Regions from separate parts of the Homo sapiens genome. Here region 1 is linked to region 2. Evidence: promoter capture Hi-C in human tissues and cell types (Jung and others, 2019). All regions are on one chromosome and are shown on one strand. Each heading gives the region's core, a stretch centred on a gene start or on the middle of the fragment in contact. The rest is flanking DNA. Distances are from core to core; before and after follow the strand shown. Region 1 holds the start of LOC124903348 (a long non-coding RNA gene). Region 2 holds the start of JDP2 (Jun dimerization protein 2).

Region 1 (3,489 bases), core at 902-3,401, 570 kb before region 2:
CTCATTCCACTGCCTTTTAGGGCTGGGTCTGAAGAGCTTACACTCCTGCTTTCAGAGCTGGTTGACGGGGGTGCTGTTCTAGAATCCTAACCCAGACTGGCACCATGAATGATGGGTTGCCCCACTGCCAAGCTCCAGACCCAGCTTGGCTTGGGGCTTGCTGCCACTGCAGGTCAAATGACCACCCTATGTGGAAAGATGCAGCAGTGCTGCCTGTCCCATACTGGCCGTGACCCCTTGAGCCTCAGAAAGGGAGACATGGACAATTTTCCCCACAGGTAGTCTTAGCTTTCCAAACATACTCTGACTCACCAGTCAACCAGTGGATGACCACAGTTCTTGTATTTTTTGGAGGTATCAATAAACCACTCTTTGTGATCACAGTCAAGGGAGAAGTCAAGAAGAGGGAAGTGTAATCTGTGACCAGATATACCCGGCACCTGCAGAATCAGATGCCAGCCTAACAGCTGTCAGCTGTGCATGAGGCAACATGCATCTCTTGATTAGGAATGTGCGCCAGTGACACCTAGGCTCACCTTTCACTGACGCTTTACCTCTGAGGTGCCACCAGTGTGCCTTCATAGGGATCCCCGAGGGACTGAGCTTGAGTGTTGTTTATTGTTATTTCCAGAAAGGATTTGAGGTGACTTGCTATGGAAGGCCCACTGATACATTTTCAAGGGAAAATACAGATAAGAATCAAATCATGAAAAGCATAGAAATTGTTGAGAAAACCTAGGCCAAGACTAGGTGCCACAACTGAGCTCAGCATTCAGTCCTGAGCCTCCTGGCACTAAGGCAAAAAGGTCAGGAAGTTATGTAACTTGATAATGACAGGGTATTCAGTCTAAGATGGTGTAACACCTGGCAGCCCTCTCACTAAGCTTCAGAATGAAGACTGGCTGTTGACTCAGTTTGCTGCTTCCACCTGTTGCCCAAGTGAAGATGTTGAGGCTGTAATCTTTGTGGATGATACAGAGATTGGCCCAGGCTGCCCTGGCTCTCAGTAACTTAAGGAGACACAGAAGAGGGATCTTTCCTAAAACTCGAATCATATAGGGAAGACACTCATCAGATCTCATGGGAACCCAGTACATGGTCTTACCTCAAAGTCATTTCCCTTGTTGTAGTGCATATTGAGAGCTTGAAAAAGTTCTGAATTGCGGAGAACCACCAGCATTTTGGGATTTGTGACACCATCTGAAATTGCTTGCCGGGCAGATTTTTCCATTTGGATGTAATAAAACTCACGAAAGTTGCTGAACCACTTGATCATCTGGGAGGTAATGCAGCGGTTGAACTGTACAAACAAGAGGTCCATCCAGTCAGACATTTGCCACGAGGTGCTCAGAATTAGAACTGTCTGCTTCCAGCTCAGTATAGGGGTTCATATACGGCTTTAACCAGCATTAACAGGGGCTTCCTTTAAAAAAAGAAGCGAAGCCACCGCTATTTTCCAAGCCTATTTAGTTATACTCAGAAAAATCTAAATTAGCTACAGTGCCCATTAGAACATAACTTTTTTTTGATATGCTAGATTTATGGGGGTTGTTTTACCCATGAAAAGCTTTTTGTGGTGTTTGAGTGGGACTTAGGGGTCACGACCAGTGTGGTGCCAGATTTTGCTGCACCCAGGTGGACTGCATGGCAGGCCTGGGGCCTTCCACTTGGATAAAGGGCCAAGGGAAGGGCAAGATGTAGGTCAGGGAGCAGTTTATTAGCAACTTTGAATTGTGGAATGAATTGAAATCAAAATCAGAGGTTGCTTCAGGGATCAACCAACCAACTGAATATGAGGGAAAGAAAAGCTTGAATGATGTAGACCAAAAGTATTAACAGCCCCTAACCCAACACCCAAAGTAAAAGAGGCCCTCAGAAACCTTTTATGGGAACAGGGGAGGTCTGGTCCCAACAATTAGTTTGATTTTCCTTATTGTCACACTTCATCTGTATGTACTTTCACTCAGTTTTGAACTATAGCAATTTGAACATAAATTTGACAGTGTCTGACACTCTGTCTCTCTCTCCCTCTCTATATATATTTTTTGTTGTTTGTTTGTTTGTTTTTGTGTGTTTTTTTTTTTTTGAGATGTAGTCTCGCTTTGTCGCCCAGGCTGGAGTGCAGTGGCGTGATCTCTGTTCACTGCAACATCCACCTCCTGGGTTCAAGTGATTCTCCTGCCTCAGCCTCCGAGTAGCTGGGATTACAGGCGCACGCCACCACGCCAGCTAGTTTTTGTATTTTTAGTAGACATGGGGTTTTACCATGTTGGTCAGGCTGGTCTCGAACTCCTGACCTCAGGTCATCTGCCCACCTCGGCCTCCCAAAGTGCTGGGATTAGAGGCATGAGCCACTGTGCCTGGCCTATATTTTATTTTTCATAGTGTCCCCAGCCAAGGCAGAAAACTAGCCAAAAAGGCCACTAACTAGTGTTTCTGTTTCCCTCTACTTTTCCTGCCCATGTGTTTCTGTTTTGGGGATTATCTACAGCTCAGTAGCTTAAGAATTTAGACAGCCAGCCTTTCTAGCCTAAAGTTATTCACGGTTATTTGGGTAGAGTCTCAGCCCAGAACTGGACATTGCTTCCATCAGCAACACTAAGGGGAGCTTGAAGTGCACATATGATGACCTAGGACTTGCCTCACACCAGGCAAAACACACTGCCTCTTGGGAGTTCTGCAGAAGCTGCCATTTAGTTGAGTGACTTTACCTGAACATCAGGAAAATAAACCTTCAGGAGGTTGGAGCTGGGATATCGTGTGAAGAAAAACATTAGTTTGGCCTTCTTCAAGTGACCAGGGTTTAGACCCTCCTGGATTTATCTCAGTGTCAAGGAAAATGAACACTTTAAAATGCCAGTTTATCAATTAACTAGTGAATTCCTTGTTCCTGTGGTTTCTATTTGATTTCATTTTGTTTTTCTGATTGGAATTGTGTATTTGCTCCATTTTTCTGTCTCTGGAAACTCTGGTCAAATAAGCTGGATGACATATGTGCACAGTTAAGTCACAGAATGTAAAAATCATCTCGATGTGGAAAAGTTATGTAGCATAGATGATGTCAAATACAGGTTGGTGTATTTTGTGTGTGTGTGTGTGTGTGTGTGTGTGTGTGGTGTCTTAGATGTCAAATACAGGTTGGTGTATTGTGTGTGTGTGTGTGTGTGTGTGTGTGTGTGTGTGTGTGTGTGGTGTCCAAGTGGGATGGGAAGAGATGGCAATTCTATCCCAGATAAACCATTTCAAAACCCCAAGCAGAGATTTACTTCCCCTCTCTGCCTCAGTTTCCTCAGCTGTAAAACGAGAAGAGTAAACTAGGTGGTCCCCATTCTGGCTGTCACTCTTATCATTGCCTTCACAGTGTTGCCTTTATAACCAGCAAACATCTAAGCAGGCTGAATACCAGCTCATATTTTGCTCTTGCTCAAGAAGCTTGAATGGTTGGGTGGTACCCACTCTCCATTTGCCTGGCAGAACTATCCCTCATCT
Region 2 (3,806 bases), core at 866-3,365:
CCCTAAGAGCCAGTGGTAAATCAGCTCCATCCAGCATCCAATGTCTGCATAAAGGACCCAGTTTATGGCTTCTCCCTCTAGCCACTCCCAGAGGCAGTGACTACGTAGAGGGGCCTAGTAGGGAGTATGTGGCGGAAGGGAGGCCTTGAAGCTGTGTTCTTATAGCGTCCTATATGAAACTGAAAAGCATCAATAGCAAATAACAGAGAAGATCTAATGGAGATTATAGAGAGGTAGAGGGGACTAAAGGCCTCCCAAGTCACCCCTTGGTGCCACCCCTGTAACATATTTAATTTGTGGGGGAAGCAAAGGCCCAGTAGGACTGCTGGTGGCCCAGCCACAGTCCAAAACAGGCCCTAGAGAGGACGCGCTCTAACCACACACCCTAATTATTAGTCCCTGAATATAGATCAGTTTAGTTTATCCAAAGCCCCAGCTGAAGACACATCAAGTACTATTGCCTCTGTTCCATGTTTTGTTCCATATAAACATCCAGACACAGGTCTCATGGGAGAAACATCATGAGGCAGTTTCACAGTCCCTGGCTTTGATCTTTACGCTGTAGTAAAGGTGTCATTGGCCTTTCTGGGGCGAAGAGTCATGCTCTTCCACAAGAGTATCAAATTACTGCTCATTTTCCAATGTATATTCTTTCAGGGCCTTGCTTTCTTCTTACCTGCCCACACCAATGCTGTGAGGGAGACTGCTGATGGCGAAGGTGAAAATGGTCAGGCAATGTCATTGGGACTTGGTCTGTCTCTCCTTCCATTAGCCCACTTCTTTTATCCAGAAAGATTTCACTGCACTGGGGAAATAAGGAGAATAAAGTCTCATGCACTCACTCACATGAGAGAGACATGCATGTTCGGGTTTGCTCAATGGCACCCATCTGTCTCAAGTCTTGTTGTTTCTTTCACTCTGAGCATCTGCACTCCAAGAAGGCATGAACTTTTTCTTTCACTTCCTTTCTTCTATGGGTGATGACCTGACATCACTCTCAGAAGGAGGCCGAAAGTCGCTGAGTATAAAAATCGTCACTCCTATCTGGCTTAGGCAGAAGGTAGGGGGCTCGATGGGTACCCAGGAGCTCTGGAGGTAGGAGATGCCATCTAGGGAACCCCGTTCTACCTGAGGGCTCTGTGTCTCTGCCTTTGTATACTGGAGGGCACCATGGATGTCGCCTTCCCTCTGGAGTCCCCTTCACCATTTCCTCTCTAGAAGGATGGAAGGTGGGAGTGGGGTTGGCTATTGAAGCTGGAACGGGGAAGAAGGCCACTTGGGGTCTGCTGAGGGCTGGGTCTGCTCACTGCTGTGTCCGGAGTGGAAAGGAGAAGCCCGCTGGAGCAGGGTACAAGCCCAAGGGTCAAACTGCGCCAGCAGTAGAGCAAGCCGCGGTCTCAGGCTGCAGCCCTAGCAGAGGTCAGGCTGGTGCAGCCAGCCGTCTCGGGGCCTAAGGGCGCTGGCGGGGGCCGGTGGGTAGGGGTAGGAGTCCCCAAATGCCTTCATCTCAGCCCATCCTTCTCCACCGAAAAATAAAGCAGGCTGGCGAGATCGCCTCCTCACCCGCTCAGTCCTGAAGTGTCCAAGGATGAAACTGTGCGGAAATTCTCCCTGTCGCTCTCAGTTTGTGGGGGAAGCGCCGGGACTGAGGTACATGGTTAACACAGGCTGTGCGTGAAGGGGCTTTTGACTTTTCCCCCGGCTCCGGCCTCTCGCGTCTCTCTCCTAGGGCTGCGGCTGCTGCTGCCTGGCGGGCACAAGCCGGGCGGCGGTGCGCGGGGGGTGCGCTTACATAACCGCTCGCCGCGTCCTGCTTTCTCGAGCGCTCCTGCACCGTGGGGTGGCGGAGCCGGGGGACTGCATGGAACCCGGGACGCCCCCGCGGGGAGAGGAGCGCGAGCGGCCGCGGGAGGAGGGCGCCCAAGGCGGCGGGGGAGGTTAAGGTCAGTGGGTGTGAAGCGCCGGCTCCACACCCCCTCCTCCCCGGTCCCCTCCTTCCCTTCCTCTCCGTCCCCCTCTGACGTCTGGAGCTGGCAGCTCGGCCGGTTCCGCATTCCCGACCCCTCCCCGCCGCCCAGGGGCCGCTATATAGCCGGGGCTGATGCAACCCGTCCCGCCGCCCGCCACAGCCTGCGGGAGGGACGCTCGGCGGCCGCGACGGGGGGCGCTGGCGGCGGCGGACGCTGCAGCGGCGGCGGGGCTGGCGCCGCGGCGGCTCCCGGGCCGGGACAGGCCTGGGCACCGGGCGGAGCTCCGCGGCCGGGCGGCAGCGGCGCGGAGCGGGCACGGCGCCTGCAGCCGGGCCCCGGCCCCGGGGGCGCCGCCTCCCCCCGCACCTTCTGCACGGTGGGTGCGAGGGCGCGCGCTGGGGGCGCCGGGACGGGCGGGGCGGGGCAGGGCGCGGCGCGGGCACCTGGGACGGCCGCCCCCGCACGGGCGGAGCGCGAGGAGCCCCAGCCCAGCCCCGCGGGGAGGCTCCCGCAGCCCAGGGACCTCGAGCTTTCCCCGCGCCGGGCGCTGCAGCCGGGCCCCTCCCGCGAGGCGCCCGGCAGCCTGAGGCTTCCTTTTGGTTCCCGCCCCGGGACGGGAGGCTCCGTCCGCTCCCTGGACAGCCGGGGTGCTCCCTCCTTCTCCCTCCCGCGCTCTCCTCCCCCGTCCGTTTGCAGGGAGGTGCTCTCCTCGGGCGGCGGGGAAGGCGGGGTGAGTGGGGAGAAAAGTGCCCGCGGAGATGGGCTGTGCGGGTGGAGGTGGAGGGTGAAGGGCCAGGGAGGTGCGGGGTTGGGGTCGGGGTTAGATTGTGGAGGGATGACAAGGACCTCCTGGCAGTGAGGAAGCGCGACTCCCGGAGGACCCGGACCCGGAGGAGAGTATTGAGAAGGGCTCGGGATTTCCATCCAATGAAGGCAGCTTCTCTCATGGCCATTGCTTCGGAGCTCTGGGCTGGGAGGGGATCTAGGGGTGGCCGGGGTCCCCTTTGGGCTCTCCTGTCTCCCACGCCAGGTTATATAAGGAGGCAAGCAGGCTCCTGTAGGTAACCAGCCTCTCCCTTGCCCAGCCCAGCTTAGAAGGCTCTCCTCTGCTCCTCCCTTCAAAGGAGGTTGTCGAGGGGTAGGGGTGCAGTGGGGGGTGGGAGAGTGTAGGGGTGGATTGGGCCTTCCACCTGGATCCCTGGACCCTGGGATGGCAGAGCCAGGCTTTGCCTGGGTCAGTAGGAGGAGCAGGGAAGATGAGGAGGCTGGGGAAGATGGGGAGGTCCTGGCTCTTTTGCAGGGATGGAGAGGCTGGTGGAAGGAGAAATCAGCCGACCCCCTTGGGTCATCTCCAGTTGCAAGATGGCGTGGCCCTTGCCCAGGGTGCTGCCCTCCCTGTTGGAATCCAGGGCATGGGGCTATGGCCCGACCACGTGTGCTCAGGGCAAATGTGCTCAGGTCTATATCTCAGAAAGGGCTTGCAGCCTGCTTAGGCGTGTGTACCCAGGCTTAAATCTTGGTGGTCTCTCCCTAGGGTCTTAATTGGAGGAGCATCAGGAATTGGGAAGCTTTGAACCATGTTTGGGTACATTTGTACCCAAACGTCCTTTAAGCCCTTGGTAGAAACTGCATTCGCGTATCATCTCCCTTCCCCCCAACCTTCCTTCCCTGAGGGTTTTAAAAAACACTTCCCATTGCTTTTACCTTTCCAGCAAATCTGGCTGCAGCTTGGATGGATAGCTTATCTTCCTTTGCAGGTTTCTAGGGGAGAGTTTAACCAGGTATCAGGTGTGAGCATGGCTCTGATTTTGTATAAACCTGAGGATCGAGGAAGAG

What was found. The method cuts DNA at HindIII sites, captures the fragments that hold promoters and counts their contacts. A contact is called where the count stands out against the background at its distance.
Region 1: a fragment that was not itself captured here is called in contact with the fragment with the promoter of JDP2 in region 2 in 1 of the 25 tissues and cell types used here (dorsolateral prefrontal cortex).

What each region holds. Positions count from the first base shown.
Region 1 is chr14:74,855,696-74,859,184 of GRCh38, forward strand. It overlaps PROX2 (prospero homeobox 2), which reads right to left. Exons shown (of 6, transcript NM_001243007.2): 4 at 2,712-2,819; 5 at 1,106-1,300. It overlaps LOC124903348 (a long non-coding RNA gene), which reads left to right and starts at 2,811. Exons shown (of 2, transcript XR_007064269.1): 1 at 2,811-3,071; 2 at 3,138-3,489. RefSeq lists an enhancer at 1-185. The HindIII fragment of the contact is 3,434 bases long and covers 435-3,489 here.
Region 2 is chr14:75,425,907-75,429,712 of GRCh38, forward strand. It overlaps JDP2 (Jun dimerization protein 2), which reads left to right and starts at 2,116. Exons shown (of 4, transcript NM_001135048.2): 1 at 2,116-2,346. It overlaps JDP2-AS1 (JDP2 antisense RNA 1), which reads right to left and starts at 1,749. Exons shown (of 2, transcript NR_184172.1): 1 at 1,564-1,749; 2 at 1-805. RefSeq lists enhancers at 885-984, 1,235-1,564, 1,585-1,644, 1,612-2,169 and silencers at 1,835-2,104, 2,355-2,534, 2,595-2,764. The HindIII fragment of the contact is 10,168 bases long and covers 1-3,806 here.